Regions from separate parts of the Homo sapiens genome. Here all the other regions are linked to region 5. The links are contacts of gene promoters, found by promoter capture Hi-C in blood cells and fetal thymus (Javierre and others, 2016). All regions are on one chromosome and are shown on one strand. Each heading gives the region's core, a stretch centred on a gene start or on the middle of the fragment in contact. The rest is flanking DNA. Distances are from core to core; before and after follow the strand shown. Region 1 has its middle 29 kb from the start of MIR4757. Region 2 has its middle 10 kb from the start of MIR4757. Region 3 has its middle 45 kb from the start of OSR1. Region 4 has its middle 23 kb from the start of OSR1. Region 5 holds the start of NT5C1B (5'-nucleotidase, cytosolic IB). Region 6 overlaps LOC105373458 (a long non-coding RNA gene).

Region 1 (2,929 bases), core at 354-2,853, 730 kb after region 5:
ACATGGAAATACAGATGTAGATATATGTGTCCGGGTTCTCTATTCTGTTCTACTGGATTATTAGTCTCTTTATATAAATATCACACGTTGTAATATATCTTAGTATCAGGCCAAAAAAAATCTCTTTTCTCTATTTTTTAAGATTGACCTAGCTATTCAAGGACCTTAATTCTTCTATGTAAGTTTTAGAATGTTTGTATCAAGGTCTTCAAAATACCCCACTAGAATTTTAAATGGAATTATATTGAATTTATAAGTTAATTTGGGGAGACAGCTTGATAATATTAAGTCATTCCATACAAAAACTGGGAATGTATATCCATTTAAATAAATCATCTTGTACATACTCAAGTAGAATTTAACATTTTTATATAAATCTGTGTATGCCTTATTAAGGTAACTCCTAGATACTTTATAGTTTTTATTGATATTACGAAAGTTATTGTCAAAAAAAGTTATTGTCTTTGTTGTTTAAGTTTTTTAGTTGATAGTTTATTATAGCTGGTGAAAATAATGTTAAATATATTTAAGTTGATCTGGGATCTGGCAAATTTACTGAATTTTCTCATTACTTCTAATAGTTTATCTGGGGTTTTTTCCCCTATGGAAGCTTCTTTTAGTTTTCTTTTATCAGTTCCCTCACTGAGCCAACTGATATAATAAAAACACTCCAAAGAAAATATTTTAAAAGAAAAATTATAAATTATAAAAGAAAAATATTTTTTTGGAATTTTTTCTATTTGGAGATTATAGATTCAACAGGCTGAGTAACTTTTTTAAAAATAACTACATGGTGAATAATGGGAACCAAGAAGAAAGATCTAACTATGTATGTTTTAATGTAGAACATGTTCTGCATGGAAGCTACAATTGGAAGTAGATACTCCTCTTGGATCTCGTAGATTTGTGAATATTGTATAAATTTCCTTTGTTTCACAGTTATATAGATGTTGTACATAGATAAAATTGAGACATAAAAGTTATACTACGGTTTATAAAAACAGGTTTTCATCAGCTTGTGTTCAGCAAATATCTTGTGAAAAGAAGTAGAAGACCATTTGTTATGTGGCAACACTGACAGTTGCAGTGCAAGGATGGTCACTCAGTCTGAGTCACCAGGACTGGAACACTGACCATGGCACGCATCCTCCCAAGAAATGTCTGCTGCTACACTGTTTCCTCTTGCCAGCTCTACTGTTCTGCATCCTTCACCCTCTGTCCTCTTTACGCTTTTGGCTACAGTAGGCACAGGTTAAAGTCCTCCAACTGGAAACATTTGTGAAAACTGTTCCAAGTTCCTTGAACTTTTGTCAGTTTTGTGGTATGCATTTCAAACAGTGGCAGATGTTTCCCCTGTGCTATTCACAGCCTCCCTCCAGTTTCAAAGCAGGAAGAGCCCTGAAGCAAATGAGGGCTATCTCTTGCTAAAAGCAGGAATATCATACCCAAAAAGAAAATTCAGCTTGAAAGGAGTAAGTCACAAGTTTCAAGATCCTTTGGTGGATTTTTAAATGATGGTAGTAACCCTGATCACACAAAGGTCAGTTAGAATACCCATATTCTTTCATACCACCCAAGCCTTTCCCGAGTTCTTTTCTTACAGCCTATCAAAGAGCAACTGGAAGGCCTCTGTGGCTCCCCCCACCAGCAAACATGAGATTCCATTCCCATCTTGGACAAGGAGCTAAGAATCACCCCATGCTCAAGTAAGTAGTGGGGTCTGCCATCATGAAAACTGGCTCCCCAAGGAATGTGCTGGGGCAGGAAGGAAGGAGGGACTGACACTGGGACATGAATCTCACTCAGCTCTTTTAAGACAGGCACATGCTGCCACCTGGTTCCCATTACAGCTTCACTATAGTAAGATTTGGCCACTGAGGCACCCAGGTGGAAGAATGAGACTCAGGCCCTCAGTGCTTAGAGCCGGAGAATGTTCCCAGCATATCACAATTACAGAAACATCTGTGCCCAACAGCTTTCCGTTGAACTGCTGTGAAAATTTACAGTGTTCGATTGCTTTCAGAATTTCTCACTTCTCAGCCTAAGGCAGGGTGGTCCCAAGGCTGCCAGTGAATTGCAGCAGGAAGTGAGAGAGATCACAATTTCCAGGGTTTGGATGAAATGTGGCACAAGGGTGTGAGGGGTGAGCCTGGAGCCCCAAGTGCTACAGGCTTCCATCAGCTGGTTATCTTTTCCTTCCTTTTTCATTCAATCAACATATACTTCCTGAGCATGACGTGAACTGACTTCACCATGGATAAAAATCTGAGTAAGCGTTGGTCCTCAAAAAGCCAAGAATTTAGAGAGAAGTAACCACTGGTTAAAATTGATTTGTATTATATACTACATTTTTTATTTTGAAACCACAAGACAATAAAAGTTTTCATGTATTATACTAAATATGTAAATAAACTCTATCCATTTAGAAGTACCATCTAGAACAGCACTAATCAAATTAAGGCCTCAAACTAGCTACATGAGCATCACCTGGTATCTTGTTAGAAATGTAAATTCTCTGACACCCCCCACCTCACCTACTAGTTGGGATTAATACTAGGAATCTGTATATTAAAAAGCTCTACAGGTGATGCTCACTAAAGCTTCAGCAGCATTGACCTAGAATATAAACAACAACAACAACAACAACAAAATCCTAAGCAAATAGGATACCCAAAACAACCCAACTTGATTTTTCCAGGGGAACCAGGAGAAAAAACCAAGAAGGATGAACTAGCCATTGTAGCACAAGAGAGGGTCACAAGCATTTGGAGGTGGGAGTAGATTAATAATTCTAGGAGCAGTAGTAAGAGCCAGCAGAGGGAGGAATTAATAAAGTCTTGAAAAATCATGGAGTATATATGAGGATATTTTGTTATTTAGACCTTGTTAATGTATGATGTAATGCAAAGACCGCCCAACAATTTAAGAA
Region 2 (2,978 bases), core at 249-2,748, 750 kb after region 5:
TACTCCAAGAACTACCAAAAACAAAGCATCTGGTTTTGAAGGGTGGCAGAAGTATTTCAGCTAGTTCATCAATAAGATGGAAAAGAACACTTAGACGGTATCTTTCTACTAATGTTACAAATTAAACTCTGTTATAGAATAAAAATACATAAACACAAGTCAAACACAATGGGACTGTTGTGCCTCTGACCACATCAGGGCCATCCCAGATGTGACATTAATTCTGAAGCCTGCGCCTGCCCAATTTGGCAGCCAAGCAGCTGCCGTGAATGAACTTTGGAAATGCTACAATATTAGCCTTCACTGCTAATCCTGCTAATGCACTCACAATCTATTTGACAGCCTGCCCATCACATCCCCACTGTCAGGGCGAGCAGCCTTTGGAGGTGACTGTGATGAGAGGATTACTGAAAGAACACCCCAGGGTACAGAGTGGCCCTCTATCCATTGCATTCTGACTAGTGCTGTAGATAGGCCACATACCACAGAGGGCACTGGACAGAAGCCTGTCTTCCATACACCCCCTTGGCACACAGGTACCAGAGGGAGAAGGTCACCAACCCAAAGGGATGGTGGTTTTCAAAGAGCCATGCCATGCCTCCAGTCTCATCATGCAGAAAGAAAGTAAGGCCACTTGAAGGAAAAATTCACAGGCCAGAGGGCCCTGGATCATTCCTTACTAGCAGAGCTCTCCTCTCTAGAAGCCCTACTTGCTACAGAAAAGTGAAAAAAGGTTCTGGCCCCTTGGGATGAGTCAAAGGATGCCCCTCCCCCTCCTTTCCCTCTAGCTACCAGGTTCCTCAGGGAGTGGTTGACACTCCATAAAAGCTGCATTTACAGCTTTGACTTCATTAAACTAGCAGGATTGCTTTATTTGCCTTCTAAATTTTCAGGACTTTTATTTAAAATGTTTCATCCTAAACAGAATAAAATGGAAATAAAAGGTGCAGCCTTCATCGCATCTTATAATTATTTGGAAAAGCAATCTAGGATGTCCTAGAGCAAAGCTTTTGTTCGCACTTCCAAAAATGTCCCTTCTGGGCAGCCCCTTCATGCTGGCTGCCGTCAGGGCTACCAGTAGATTGTTCTTTTTACTCCAGTTTTAAACACACAGTTCTCATTCTCAACCTAATGATCAGAAGCATGTTTTTCCCAGGAGCACAATTAACCAGTCACCCCTCTTTACCTTGAAGTTTCCTCATTTCTGTAATTGGACCAAGGCTGTTCTCCTCCAAAGTCCGGCTTAGCTAGGAACACCTTCTCAAGCTCAGGTGCCACAAAAGGCACAGGGAATGCTGAGATAAGCAGAATTGGCTCATGTCCTCAAGGAGCCTGCAGTCTATAAGCAGATATTTGTAATATAGCATCAGAAATGTTAAGTCACAGCTTTTATAGAAGTACATTGGAGAAGTCCCTGGACCAGACTGAGAAGGTAAAAAAGTTTCAGGCTGCATCCTGAAAAAGTCTGGTCTGGGTGACACTATATGCTGACTGCCTTCTTCAGCTATATTTCAGCCATACTGATCATACGGATCATTAGTATAAGGAACCTGGCTAAAGAAGAAACTCTGAAGGGCAATGGAAAGTCTAAGCCATGTCCCATCAAGACGGCAACCTGAAACCCATCTGAGGCCTCACTGCCACCTCTGTTAGCCCTTGACATTCCCAGCTGAGGTGCTCCAACATTTTTCAGGTTCACAAGCTCATACTCCAGCTAGTGAAAGGAACAGAAATGCAGTATAACATCATAAACACTATGCCACCCTCTCAAACAAGCATCATCCTCTTCTGAAGAAAGACAAGCATGAGGTCCCTAGTGCAGGCAGGGGTTGGCCACATTTCTGCTCTCTTCCTTCTCCCAGGATGGGCTCCCTCCTGAATGAGACACCCCGGAAGGCTACCCTGTGAAGCAGGAGGAAGACTTCCACTTTGTGCTTGGACTTCCGCTTTCATCCTTCCTGTGCCAGCACTCAGAGCACCTGGTGAGGCAAAGCTTTCTCAGCCCAGGACCTCTTAGCTGCTTTCTTCCTCACCAGCAGGAGGTCAGAGCCCAGCACTCCTCATTTGTCAGGCCAGGGCCTCCCCTCAATGAATCTCAGTTACAGGGAGGCAGTACAGGGTCCTGGGAGCCCATGGATTTTGGAGTCTGAAGAATCTGGATTTGAAGGCTGGTTCTATGATTTACTAACTTTGTTATCTTGTACAAAAATGTACTTCTGAGCCTCAGTTTCCTCATTTAAAAAAATGGGAATATTTGTGATTGCAAATCTCTTGGCACAATGTTTCAGATATGGTAAGGATTCAACAAATGGTAGCTATATAGAATATCCCCTCCCCATAGGTCTGCATTCTATAATAAACATCATCTCTTACTAAGGAAGGAAGGAAGGATTCTCATGAGAAAGTGAGGGACTCTAGGCTCCTTGGAAAGCAGCTAAGGAGAGCTCAAGTGAGAGGTGGGTGGTTGGTTCTCAAAGGGTGAAACTCTCGCACGTATTTCTGAAATCAAGGTGAGACAGTTTTGTTCATGATCCAGATGCAGATGCATGCCTCCTATGCCAGGGGTAAGTGGACCCCTAGGGCCAAAGGAGGCACCAAGCCAAAGCCAGCTGTGCACCCATCTCTCTTTGCTATGTGTCTGCAGGAGGGTGGGTTGGGGGGGGGCGGCGGTGTTCCAAGCACCTCGATGGACCTGGTGTCAGTCAGGTAGGCCTAGGACAATCATTCTTAGTGAAAAATAATAAAACCAACAAACTGAAAAGGGCAGAATGGATTTTTTCCCCTGGGCTCCTCAGAGGTTATATTAGCAGCTCTGAAGATTCTTTCTTGGTCACTGATATTCAGGCGCCATGCCTTTCTGGCCTGTACACATTATGCTGCTCAGAATAATTTATATAGCAGGGAAATAAGTCGATATTAGAGATTCAAAGAAAACTCTAGACATTTTACATTTTTTCCTGTCAGTCAAAAATATATTT
Region 3 (2,831 bases), core at 51-2,550, 810 kb after region 5:
GTTATGCATTCCTTTAACTATGCAAAGAATCATCTAATCCTTCATGCCTCCACCATATTCTAATTCTAATCTATTCTATCCTCTATCCACCTCCCAATAACTATTCTCCTTGGGTAGCATGTCATCAAAGAGAGACTCTTTTCATATTGTGGTCCCAGCTTTTATTTCTCTATTTTTCAAGCTGAGCTTGGCAAGTCTATCTGCTAATGTACCTACTCCTACATCTGCAATTCTACTGGAATCCACACAGTTAGATTTAATCAGACAACCTCAGTTCTCATCATTTCCTGCTACTTTGAGCATGTTTAGTTTGCAAGCTACCATATTTCTAGTGATTATTTGGCAAAGGATTTTGCTGGTATCTACTGCACGGTCTCCCTTCCAGTTTGACTTAGTTGATGTATATGAACATTTACAAACACAACCAAAAGAAACGAGTTAGAATGGCTTTCTCTTCTTAGTATTGTACTGTACTTAAATTCTTTCTGGTTCAATTTTTTTATTCAAGAACAGACTTTGAAGGGATTAGCCATAATCTAACCCCTTCTTGACTTACATGTAAAACAAACTTGTCCATTATCTATCTCTTAGTGATTTCAGAATTAAAGGTCTTTGAACCTTATTAACACAGACGATATGTTAGATGGAAAATGCCATTATTCTGTGTGCCATAACAATTTTAAACTCTTTTCAGACATGTGTTTCTGTCTTCATTGGCATTTGCCTAGGATGTTTTATATGATTAGAACTTAGTAATGGGGAAAAGCTCAATTAAGCAAATAATTGTTGAGGGATTAAGAGCATTGCACAGCACCGTGATCCTCTGGTTTGCCTAAGCTTTCCCAAAGAATCATCTGACAATTTTTCTCATTGAGCTGTGCCAGCATATAGCAAAGTTTGTATTAGCTTGGTCCAAATGGACTCAGTTAGAAGATAGTATATCTGCAGCAGCAGAGCCACCTCCTAGCCTCCCTCACTCACCATCCTGAGCGATACCCTCCCTGTTGATCTCATCCCCGTAAGCCATTCATTTAATGTTTCCTGGGTGGAATCCCATTTCTGCAGCCCACCCCTACCCTAATCCACAAAGTTCACTTGCTTAGTAAGAGGTTTCCTCCACTGGAACAGGAACTCCAAGCTCAGAGATGGTGCTATCTGTTCCTTTTCCTTCACTGGATTATCAACATGCATCCAATTAGCAAGTCTGACAGTGGCATTTATATTAATGTTTTCAGAAACAACTCAGATAACATCTTGTGCAGGCTGCAACCCTAGACTTTGTCACCACTGAGAATACATGAACCCAGGATAGAACCTCCAGGGAAGTAGGGTACTTAAAGTGATCTCAGAGTCCCCCAAATCTCCACACAGGCCATGGATGTATTTCATATGTGCAATATTTTATTTCATTTTTGTTTTGTGCTACACTCTATTTCTTGATGTGGAAGCAGCAAAAATGCCAAATATCCCTTTAATAGCATTCCAAAGTACCTTTTAATATGACTCAATAGAGGAAATAATTAAGCATTTGTGTTAAATTGTTTATGGTAAAGATATTAGAAAAACACAAAATAATTTTCTAATGAATTAGAAAAACACAAAAGGTTATATTCATATCTAATTTTGAATGAAATAGAAAGTGTAAAAGTTACTAGGGATAACACTTAAGTAAAAAGAGAAACATAAGAATCCCACCATCTATAAATGCAGAGCACTGAAAGATGATAAGCATCATTTGAATGCAACACCAAATAGAATGAAGACAAAGCTTCTGTAAGAAAAAGAAAATTGCTGACTGTAGTAAAAACTCACAGTCAATTATCTGCTATGAATCCATGACTAAATACCTGCGGAGAGACAATCACGGCCCAAGACACCATAAGAAAATGTGCACTAGGTGTTATACCCTTACGGCCCTGGGAAAGTGAGACGGTGGAGGACAGTGATGAATAAGGCCTCCTGCAGTTGTCAGCAGGGGTGGTGCAGGTTCACTAGGAACTGCTGTTCTATTCTACACACACTTTGGTTAACATAGATACCAAGAAGCAGAGACTTGCTAGTAATTTTTCAGTGGCTCAGATTCCAGGAATTTCTGTGTTAGAAACAGATATTTGGTGGTCTGAGAATATTACTGAGCAAAGATACTTTTCCACCATAAGCAGCTTCTGATTGCAAGATAAATTCACCAGAAAATGTCCATAAATTTTCACTAAACAATAAAGATTTCACAGGAAGCATCATAAAGCCTATTACTTACTTGAATGAGTAATATTGTCATTATGGAAAAAAAAACCCAAAAGAACAAACAACTAACATTGTCAAAAAAGTAGAATATTTTGCCAAGCAATAAATCATCAAAAAATATATAAAACTTCACTGCAGACCAATCTGGGTAACACAGCAAGGCCTTGTCTCTACAAAAGATAAAAAATAAAAATATTAGCCAGGCATAGTGGTGTGCACCTGCACTCCAAGTTACTCAGGAAGCTGAGGCAGAAAGATTGCTTGAGCCCAGGGGTTCAAGGTTACAGTGAGCTATGATTGCACTACTGCACTCCAGCCTGGCGTGGAGTAAGAACGTGTCTCTAAGCAAAACAAAATAAAACAAAAAAACCCGACAAACTTTACTGTTTAAAAATTCATTTTAGGTTGACAAAACAATTAGCATTCCTTCTGAAACTGAGATCAACATGTGAAAATGTTGTCTGATTGTGTAAACCAAGATGACAGGTTGAATATACTATGCATACCTTACAAAATCCTAACAGGGAGAGGGCACATCACACGAAGCTGCTCAGAGTTTGTTTAGCATGGCCCACCAGCCTCTATTG
Region 4 (3,060 bases), core at 469-2,968, 790 kb after region 5:
TGGAGATGGGATTTGTCAACTGAATTAAGCCTCCTGAAACCAAGAGGAAGAGGGAAGCTATCTTTTGAAATATTTTGGGTTCCCAAGACCCAGATGCTAGAGCAGTTACCTGGAATGAGGCTTCCCTAGAGCATGCTAAGGTGGAATCCACAAATTGGGAGCTTATTAAAAAATTCAATTTATTAGTAACCACAAAGGAGGATGCAGCTGATGTGGTCAGCACCAGAAATGCCTGTCTGTTTCCACACACTTTGCCAACCCCCATGGTTTCCCCAGCCAGCACTGCTAACAGATGCACTGATTGAAACCTATGATAAATACACGGTAATTTGTGAGTACCTCTGAAACCACAAATTGGAACATAAATAAAAGAAAGAAAATGGATGTTTGGTACTACTGGGAATAATAATGATGCATTAACTGGGAATAAATATTATGGTATTTCACTGTACAAGAATATATTATATGCATGGTAAGAGGAAGGACTTGACAAGGTTATTAATTTGTCTCTTCTTTCACTTAAGCATTTCCATTATTTAGATCCTCCCTGAAAAAACGTATAGTCTCAAATGATGAAAAAGATCTATCAATCAGATAAAGCTTGATCAGAAAAGCAGGCCACTATAACTGATACAGAATCAGGAATTAATCATAGGAATTAGACCTCATGCAACCCTGGGAGCTGTTTACACCATCTACATAAGCTTCTTGTCTCTGTGTCTAGTATTGATTGAAAGTCAGCAGGGGCAGTGGATATTCATGCAATGGCAGAAAGCAATGACAACCTGGAACTCCATCTGTCTTTTAATGCCTCCAGGCTTGGTAATGTGGGTGACCTGCAGGGTATTTTGGCACACTTTTCCATGGAGATGTCCATGCACCTGACCTAGGATTTAGAGAAGATGAAGAAGATTCACAAGGAGTTGGAGGAGCTGTGGGCCCAGCTACTGCCCCATCACAATGAGTCAGCAGATCATTAAAAGTATTTGAGAGCTGTAACAACACCTGATGCACACAGTTCTTTCAAGTGTAAAATGGCTTCACCTCTGACTTCCAAATCCTGAAGAGATGTCTACTGAGTCAACTTTAGCCCAGAACCACCTACACAAAGAAATTCTGGGAAATGTGGTTTAAGTTCAGCAAGGTTGATATGCTACAAAATCACCACAATAGTCCCAAATCTTTTACTACAGTAAGTGAGTTCCAGTTGCTTAACATCTTCACCAAAATTTGGTGGTAACGGTTTTTCATTTTAGCCATTTGATGTTGTATAATGAATGATATCTCACTGGAGATTTAATTTGCACTATTTGAAGACTAATGAGATTGAGCACTTTATTACACGTTAATTGGCCATAAGAATATCTTCTTTTGTGAAGTTCCTATTCAATTCTTTTGCCCACTTTTCTATTTGGCTTTTTCTTATTTTGTATGGGTTATTTTTATATTCTTGATATGCGTTCTCTTTCAAATATATTTTTTGTAACTATTTTCTTCCACTAAGTGGCTTGTCTTTTTGACCTATTAATGGTATATTTTCATAATCAGTTCCTAATTGCAACGTAGTCTTTTTTTTGCAGGTTCATTTCACATCCCTTTTAAGAAATCTTTTCTTACTTCAAGGTTATAAAGTTATTTTCTTACGTTGTCTTCTAGAAATATTATATATTTACCTGCTGCACTGCTTTACATTTATCTACATATGTTTTGTCTGTTTTTCTAGTTGTTTATGATGGAAAGATATTCTCAAAGCCGTTAATTCATTCCTTCTGAATGGAGGCAGAAGTTTGCTTGGTTTTTTATCTTCTTGCCCTGTGCAACATCACAATTTAACAAAGGCATTGAAAGGAAAGTTGCTGGGTGTTGTGTCATGTCTTTGAACCCCACTTCTCTTGATCTCTCACGTCCTGGCTGCCTTCTGAGTCTCAAACTCCAACTTTTGTTTCCTAGTTTTGTGAGGTTACTGAAACTCTGCTGGCTTCTCTAATTCTTAGCACTAACCTCTACCTGTCCTCATCTTGTTCTTAAAAAAATTGTAACTGATCTGAAGGGAAAAGTGATGTATTGATGTATTTATGTATACAATATTGATGCACCTACTTTTTCTCTGAGACCTTGGCCACTCAAATCCTGTATAATACGCTAATACCTTCAAGCATCCCCCCTCCCCCATTTTATCTGTCCTTTGTAGTTGTTCTCAGCGAAATAGTAGGAATAGTTCTTTCATTCCCTTGTCTAATAATTTGAAGAAATGCCATCTTTATAGGTCTGTTTCTGCTGCTTCTAGTATATCATGCTTTTTGTACTTGTGTACTGTATGAGGGTTCTCCAGAAAAACAGAACCAATAAGATGTACACATATATATGTGTATATATATATGTGTGTGTGTGTGTGTGTGTGTGTACTTCAAAAAGTTTGTGGAAAATTGAATTAAAAGGTAAACATAAAAATATGAATTTTATTATTTTATTTCTCAACATAAGCTCCATCCACTTTAAGGCATTTTTATAAGTGATGATACCAGCCATTTAGTCAGTACAGTCTTTTTTACATTATTAGCTGAAGAAAAATTTGTGCATTTTAAAGATTTTTGTTTAATTGGGAAACAAAAATAAATCATAAGAAGCCAAATCAGGACTAATGATTTTCTATTGAAACTCTCACAAAACTTCCCTTGTTTAGTGAGAGGAATGAGCAGGAGCATTGTCAGGATGGGGAAGGACTGTCTGGTAAAGCTTTCCTGGATGCTTTTCTTCTAAAGCTTTGACTAACTTTCTCACAACACTCTCATAGTAGGTAGATGTATTGTCTTTGGCCCCCCAGAAAGTCTACAAGCAAAACCCCTTGAGGATCTAAAAAAAAAAAAAAACTGTTGCCATGACTTCTGCTCTTGGCCAGTCCACTTTTACTTTGACTGGATCACTACCGCCTCTTGGTAGTCATTGCTTTGATTGTGCTTTCTCTTCAGAATTATACTGGTAAAGTCATATTTCAGCTCCTGTTATAGTTCTTTGAAGAAAATCTTCAAGATCTTGATCCCACTTGTTTAAAATTTCTAT
Region 5 (2,700 bases), core at 48-2,547:
CTTATTGGAATATTATTTGAACTGTTTCATGCTAAGTAAGTAGCTGCAATGTGATCAAGATTAGTGTTATTTATATGTTTAAGGAGCACAACTTCTAAGTTAGACCAAGATCCACTAGAGCAGTCTATATTCATCCGTTTATGCTCTGTGTCTTGCATGCAGGAAAAATCTCATCAATGTTAGTTGCATGAGAATGTTAGTTGCATGAGAGAATGGCATAGCTGTATGACTCCTGAACTAATTTTAAAATCTTTTCATCAACCCTCACTCACCTTATACACATACATAGCAGTCACCATAATACCTCTTACTTCTAATTCCAAATGATATTTTGAATCCAGTTCCTTTTTTCTATCTCTATTATCATTGCCTTGTTCCAGGTCTCTGACCATCCTGGGACTACATTTTCAGAATATAGCCTTTCAAACAGGTTTCATGGCCTTAAATCCTCTCCACTTCTAGATCTGTCCACCGTATTTATTTAGAGTAATATTTACAAGATGTAAATCTAGTAATGCTTCATTCCTGGATAAACACTTTCTTCACTTGGTTTGACCAGGAGCCTCATGATGTTTTCCTGTGTACCTGCTACTTGCATGCCCTTCACTCTATACTTTATCACTATGTTCTACTAATACCAAGTGACTTGTATTTGCCTGCATACACCAGCCTTATTTCCTTATGGTCTCCTCTTCTCTCCTGTGTTCTTCGAAACCCAGCTCAGTGTGACCTGGGGGAAGTTCCCAGAGTGAAATATTGCCCTGTGTTCCTTGTGTCTTTTGTACATACTTTTATGGAGCAATGAGTTGTCCTTTGTCTATTGTCTTTCCTACTAGGCCATGCATTCTTCAAAGACAGCCACTGTTTTTACCTTTTACTACTAACATATGAGTATATGCTAAATGAATACTGACTTATTGGAATCATTTATATACTACACGTTTTTTAATCTCTTTCTTTGCTGTCTTAATTTCTTTTAAATTTCTCCTTCTTCCCTTTTCTGTACTCTTTCCATTGCCTTTATTCTCTCCCTTCTCTTTTCCTCTACCTGAAGCCATTATCTGAAATTATTTGATCATTGCAGAGCCTTTGCAGAGGCAAATGATGGACTGATATCCACATTTCTTCAGCCCCATGGCAAGATTCTAAGACACTCGGTTCACTCACCTTTTTCTGTTTGAGAGATGTTTGACTCATTTTTTTACCTGTTGAAATTCTTTTGTTGTTATCCACATTTTTGTCTCCCCAGCTCCATTTCCTGTCACTTCCCTTGCTCAGTCTAGCTTTGCATTTAGAATGTCAAATTTATGACATCATATGTGATTCCATAGTAACAAACTGACTCTATGAATATGTGATTAACCTTTTCTTAAAAAACAAAAAATAAATGTTTCTTCATTTTGAGTGTATCTGCTCATAGCCATTGTCTTTGTTTTCAGAAATTGATGTCTAAACATTGTTCAAATGTTCAATATGTAGCAATATCAATATTACCACTTCCTTTTTAAATCTTTTTAAGCATTTCTCTGCCATTCATTATATTAATCCCATTTGTGACTGTCTGTTTCCTGGTACTGCCAAAATGAATGGCAAAGTCATTTGTGGATCCAATCATTTATCCATGTTCATTCTGCCAGACAGACTTTGGAGGGCTTTTCTCAGATCTAGAGACTATTTTTGACAGCTGGGATTTTGTTCCAGACATGGAGTTTAGACTTGAGTTTGAGTTTAGCTTTAATGTCTCATGTTTCTTTCAATGGCAAAACCTGTTGAGGAAGACACTGTCAAAGCCCCTTCCCCATGGCTAGACTCAGTGTAGAATGTTACCTTTGCTGCCCCATCCTTAACCCTTAACCCTGGGCTGCCCCATCCTTAACCCTTTAAACACTAAAGCTAAACTCAAACTCAAGTCTAAACTCCATGTCTAGAACAAAATCTCAGCTGTCAAAAATAGTTTCCAGATCTGAGGAAAGCCCCCCAAAGTCTGGGAGAGTGAACATGGATAAATGATTGGGTCCACAAATGAGTTTGTGATTCATTTTGGCAAGTAACAGGAAACATACAGTTACAAATAGAATTGATATTTGTAAAAAGTAGCCCCTAACTCTGGTTTACAGAATCTAAACATGTTCTCCATTTTAGTTTTCTCCTTTTATCTTCACCCAAGCTTTAGATAGGAGACATGTGCCATGCCAACCTGAGCTGGTGAAATCATCAAGGACTGAGGCAGGTTTCCAGCCTGTTTTCATGGGACAAGTTGATAGCTAAGGTTGAATATCGGAAGTTGTTGATGGTTTTAATTTAAGTTATCCAAGGAGTCTTTTAGTTAGTAAAACATTCAGGCTGTAGGTAAGAGTGCCTGGGTTTAAGTTATTTCATCTCTCCCCTACTCCCCACTGTACACCCAACCCCCAGCATTCTACCCAAAATTTGTACAGGGGTCATTTGTTTTTGCATGGTTATGATGTTATTGTGTAATATTTGTATAAGTTATGTAGACAATCAAAGTTGTAAGTGCTATACGTTTCAGAGTAACTTCAGAGAACCTTACCTTTTCTATTAAAATCACACCCCTAAGTACCAAGAGCATCTTTATTTTCTTAGTATGCTGTGTTTGGGGCCAGAGCAGCTAATGTGAATTTCATCTCATTGTAATTAGGTGTTTTATTTCTACTATTCAGGATTATAAACTCATTATGG
Region 6 (2,973 bases), core at 450-2,949, 840 kb after region 5:
TGAAACATTAAGAATCATAGTCACCTTTGGGAGGCCGAGGCAGGCAGATCACTTGAGGTCAGGAGTTTGAGACCAGCCTGGCCAACTTGGTAAAACCCCGTCTCTACTAAAAATACAAAAAAATTAGCTGGGTATGGTGGTGCATGCCTGTAATCCTAGCTACTCAGGAGGCTGAGGCAGGGGAATTGCTTGAATCTGGGAGGCGGAGGTTGCAGTGAGCCAAGATTGTGCCACTGCACTCCAGCTTGGGTGACAGGACACAGCAAGACTCTGTCTCAAAAAAAAAAAAAAAAAAAAAAAAAAGAATCACAGCCACTTCTCTCTCCTCATAGCCTTTATAAGCAATTATAACCTTAACCTATACCACTTTAAGAATCAAATCAATTATTTTTCTATTCTCTTTTTTGTTCTTGTTTCCAGAGCAGTGGTTTTCAAAATGTGGTCACTAGTCCAGCAGCATCAGGATCACTTGGGAATTTAGGAATGCAAATTCTCAGGTTTTATCCCAAACCTACTGAATCATAAACTCTGGGGATAGAGCCCAGTAATATAGGTTTTAACCACTGACATAGGGCCAGTAGTCTTGCTTCATAGGAACTAGCTGTACTGGCATAGAGAAACATTACCCATTCCACCTGTAAAGACAGGAGGACAGGAAGCAAGGCATGACAGCCTAGGGCAAGCCTCCATAAAGCTGCATAAAAGGCGTGGTCTGCCAATCCACATGTTGGCACCACAGACCTGATTAAGGGAAACACCTCTGGAAGACAACTGATTTTGAATTTGAGAAGTGATTGCACACCATAATCAGTCAACTGCATGTGTATGAACAGGAGCATCTGCTACTCACATTTTCAAAACTACCTTTTCCACAGGTACATTCCAGAGTGCAACAAACCACTTCCACATGTGGGGGCTGATCTCTCAACTATATATCTTACCTGCCTTTTGTGTCATCACAGATTTCTTTAGAAGTTAAAGTTCACTTCAAAGTCATGGTGAAGTCAAAACTTTTCCAGGTGCAAGGATTTATCTTCAGAGATGTGGGTGATCAAGGCCGGGAAAAACTGTGAGTTAGTGGGGGGCTACCTTCCAGCTAACAGATCTTAAAGCTCATCTCTGCCCACAGTGGAACCACGTGAGAAGCTTTATTAACACATCAGTGTTTGGGCCCCATCTCCCAGAGATTTTGACTTATTTATTTTAAGGTGGGGTATAAGAGTTGGTATTTTTTTAAAAAAACTACCCCATATTCTTCTACTGTGCAGCCCAGTTCCAAAACCACTGCCTTAAATAAATATTTCTTGAGCATTTAATATAAGTGAGTCTCTTGGTAACTGGAAAATTCAAAAGAACACAAGGCAAGAGGCTGTGTCTTCAAGAAGCAGAGAATGGTGGAATGTGGAGCAAAATATACACACCTAACTGGAACCTACAGGAGACTGTGGTAAGTGCTACATTAGAATTACACACAGTTTATAACCCGGGCCAAAGAGAGGGTAGAGTTTATTCTGAGTGGTAACAACTGGATATGGCTTCGCAGAGGAAATTGAATTTGAATTTGGTTTTGAAGGGATTGTAACAGACAAGGGAAAAAGAACATGTTAGGTAGAAAAAGCAAAAATGAACAAAAGCATGGAGGCAAGAAAGTTCAAGCATTTTGAAGGGATAAGTCAACATCATGTAGTTGCAGTATACAGGGAAGGAAGTTGGTAAGGTGGGCTGGAGCCAGATTTCAAATAACTTTGAACAGGATGCTAAAAATCTGCATCTTATGAGCAATGAAGAGTAACCTTATGATAGGTGTCTAAGAAAGACATCTCATTTAGAAGCTAACTGATATTTACACTAATGAAGGTGTTGCTAACTACATTTAGCCAGTGAAACATTTACTGAGCATTTCATTACTTTGTTGCAAGCTCCTGTGCTAGACACTATGAGGGACTAAAAAACATACTCAAGGCAGCAATTTTTCTCTAAATTCTTTTAATAAATAGATTGTTGAAACATACACTCTCATAATTCTATTATACAAAATGGAATTTTGTGGACTAAATAGCTGATTTACGTTGTTGCTCTTAATCGTTCTTGTTTTTTGAAAAAGCAGGCTATATGTGGTAAAAGTAGCTTACTGGAGCCACTTAAAACATTTGCCTAATGGCTACTTATATAAAACATGCATTAAAATACTCTGGGCTTGCAGGGAATACTTATGCCTTGAAGACCATTGTGAAGAAGGGCAACATTCCAGGACAAGCTTATTGCTCAAAAAGATTTCTGCAGTTCAGGCACCTTTCAGTGATGATAAATGTGATGCCTGGTCCCACGTGTGAGCATTTGTATGCAGGTGTTTTTTGGTCTGGTTTTCTTTTATTTGGAAAAGAAGGCACATTCTCTCCTCTTTTGCCATTAATATGAGCAATAACTCCACCCCTCTTGAAAAGGCACTGGATATTCAAATTGTTGACATCTCTTATGGTGAGATCTAAGAGCACCACGCAGCCTGAGCCTCGGACTACTAGTTGCTTGCAGTAACCTCAAGCAGGTCACTTTCCCTCCCTAAATTTCTTTATCTGGAAAGTAGGAAAAATAATAGTACCTGTGGCACAGAAACTGGGTAAGTTCAATGAAATAACAGTGCTAAAAAATTTGAGGTTTTATTACTGAAACAACATGCAGGGCTTTGTGGATGCTGGGGAAGGAGAAAGAAATGAGACCCGGGATCTGCTCTCCCTGGCAAGTCAGTCGCATAGGGCACCTGGGTTGCCTTGCCTCTTGCCTTTCTCAACCTTGTCTGTTTATATCTCCAATCTACAGCTTGGATCTGCTGAGTCCTGAGCTAAAGAGAATAAAACCTGGTGCAGAGTGAGGGTCCCCTTCTCAACAGCAAGTTTTGTCTGGACTTGGTCTTGACAGAGGCCTGGTGGGAGCTATGGCCTGGGCACCCATGTGGCCCTGGAGCTGCAGAAAATA

Evidence for each region. The method cuts DNA at HindIII sites, captures the fragments that hold promoters and counts their contacts. A CHiCAGO score of 5 or more calls a contact.
Region 1: a fragment that was not itself captured here is called in contact with the fragment with the promoter of NT5C1B in region 5 in 3 of 17 cell types (total CD8 T cells, total B cells and total CD4 T cells); the score reaches 6.5 in total CD8 T cells.
Region 2: a fragment that was not itself captured here is called in contact with the fragment with the promoter of NT5C1B in region 5 in 1 of 17 cell types (total CD8 T cells); the score reaches 5.1 in total CD8 T cells.
Region 3: a fragment that was not itself captured here is called in contact with the fragment with the promoter of NT5C1B in region 5 in 3 of 17 cell types (M2 macrophages, M1 macrophages and monocytes); the score reaches 5.5 in M2 macrophages.
Region 4: a fragment that was not itself captured here is called in contact with the fragment with the promoter of NT5C1B in region 5 in 1 of 17 cell types (M2 macrophages); the score reaches 6.2 in M2 macrophages.
Region 6: a contact is called between a fragment that was not itself captured here and the fragment with the promoter of NT5C1B in region 5, in 2 of 17 cell types (monocytes and total CD8 T cells). The highest score is 5.3, in monocytes.

The regions. Positions count from the first base shown.
Region 1 is chr2:19,318,076-19,321,004 of GRCh38, forward strand. No RefSeq gene overlaps it. Among named protein-coding and RNA genes, the nearest start is that of MIR4757, 29 kb to the right of the region's middle. The HindIII fragment of the contact is 1,990 bases long and covers 609-2,598 here.
Region 2 is chr2:19,336,643-19,339,620 of GRCh38, forward strand. No RefSeq gene overlaps it. Among named protein-coding and RNA genes, the nearest start is that of MIR4757, 10 kb to the right of the region's middle. The HindIII fragment of the contact is 986 bases long and covers 1,006-1,991 here.
Region 3 is chr2:19,402,182-19,405,012 of GRCh38, forward strand. No RefSeq gene overlaps it. Among named protein-coding and RNA genes, the nearest start is that of OSR1, 45 kb to the left of the region's middle. The HindIII fragment of the contact is 931 bases long and covers 836-1,766 here.
Region 4 is chr2:19,379,784-19,382,843 of GRCh38, forward strand. No RefSeq gene overlaps it. Among named protein-coding and RNA genes, the nearest start is that of OSR1, 23 kb to the left of the region's middle. RefSeq lists an enhancer at 586-1,785. The HindIII fragment of the contact is 2,032 bases long and covers 703-2,734 here.
Region 5 is chr2:18,588,272-18,590,971 of GRCh38, forward strand. It overlaps NT5C1B (5'-nucleotidase, cytosolic IB), which reads right to left and starts at 1,298. Exons shown (of 9, transcript NM_033253.4): 1 at 1,168-1,298. The coding sequence starts at 1,197. It overlaps NT5C1B-RDH14 (NT5C1B-RDH14 readthrough), which reads right to left and starts at 1,298. Exons shown (of 11, transcript NM_001199104.2): 1 at 1,168-1,298. The coding sequence starts at 1,197. All of the region lies in intron 2 of LOC105373456 (a long non-coding RNA gene), which reads left to right. The HindIII fragment of the contact is 3,581 bases long and covers 1-2,165 here.
Region 6 is chr2:19,428,727-19,431,699 of GRCh38, forward strand. LOC105373458 (a long non-coding RNA gene) reads right to left here. Exons shown (of 3, transcript XR_939778.2): 3 at 1,267-2,961. Among named protein-coding and RNA genes, the nearest start is that of LINC01808, 39 kb to the right of the region's middle. The HindIII fragment of the contact is 1,111 bases long and covers 1,145-2,255 here.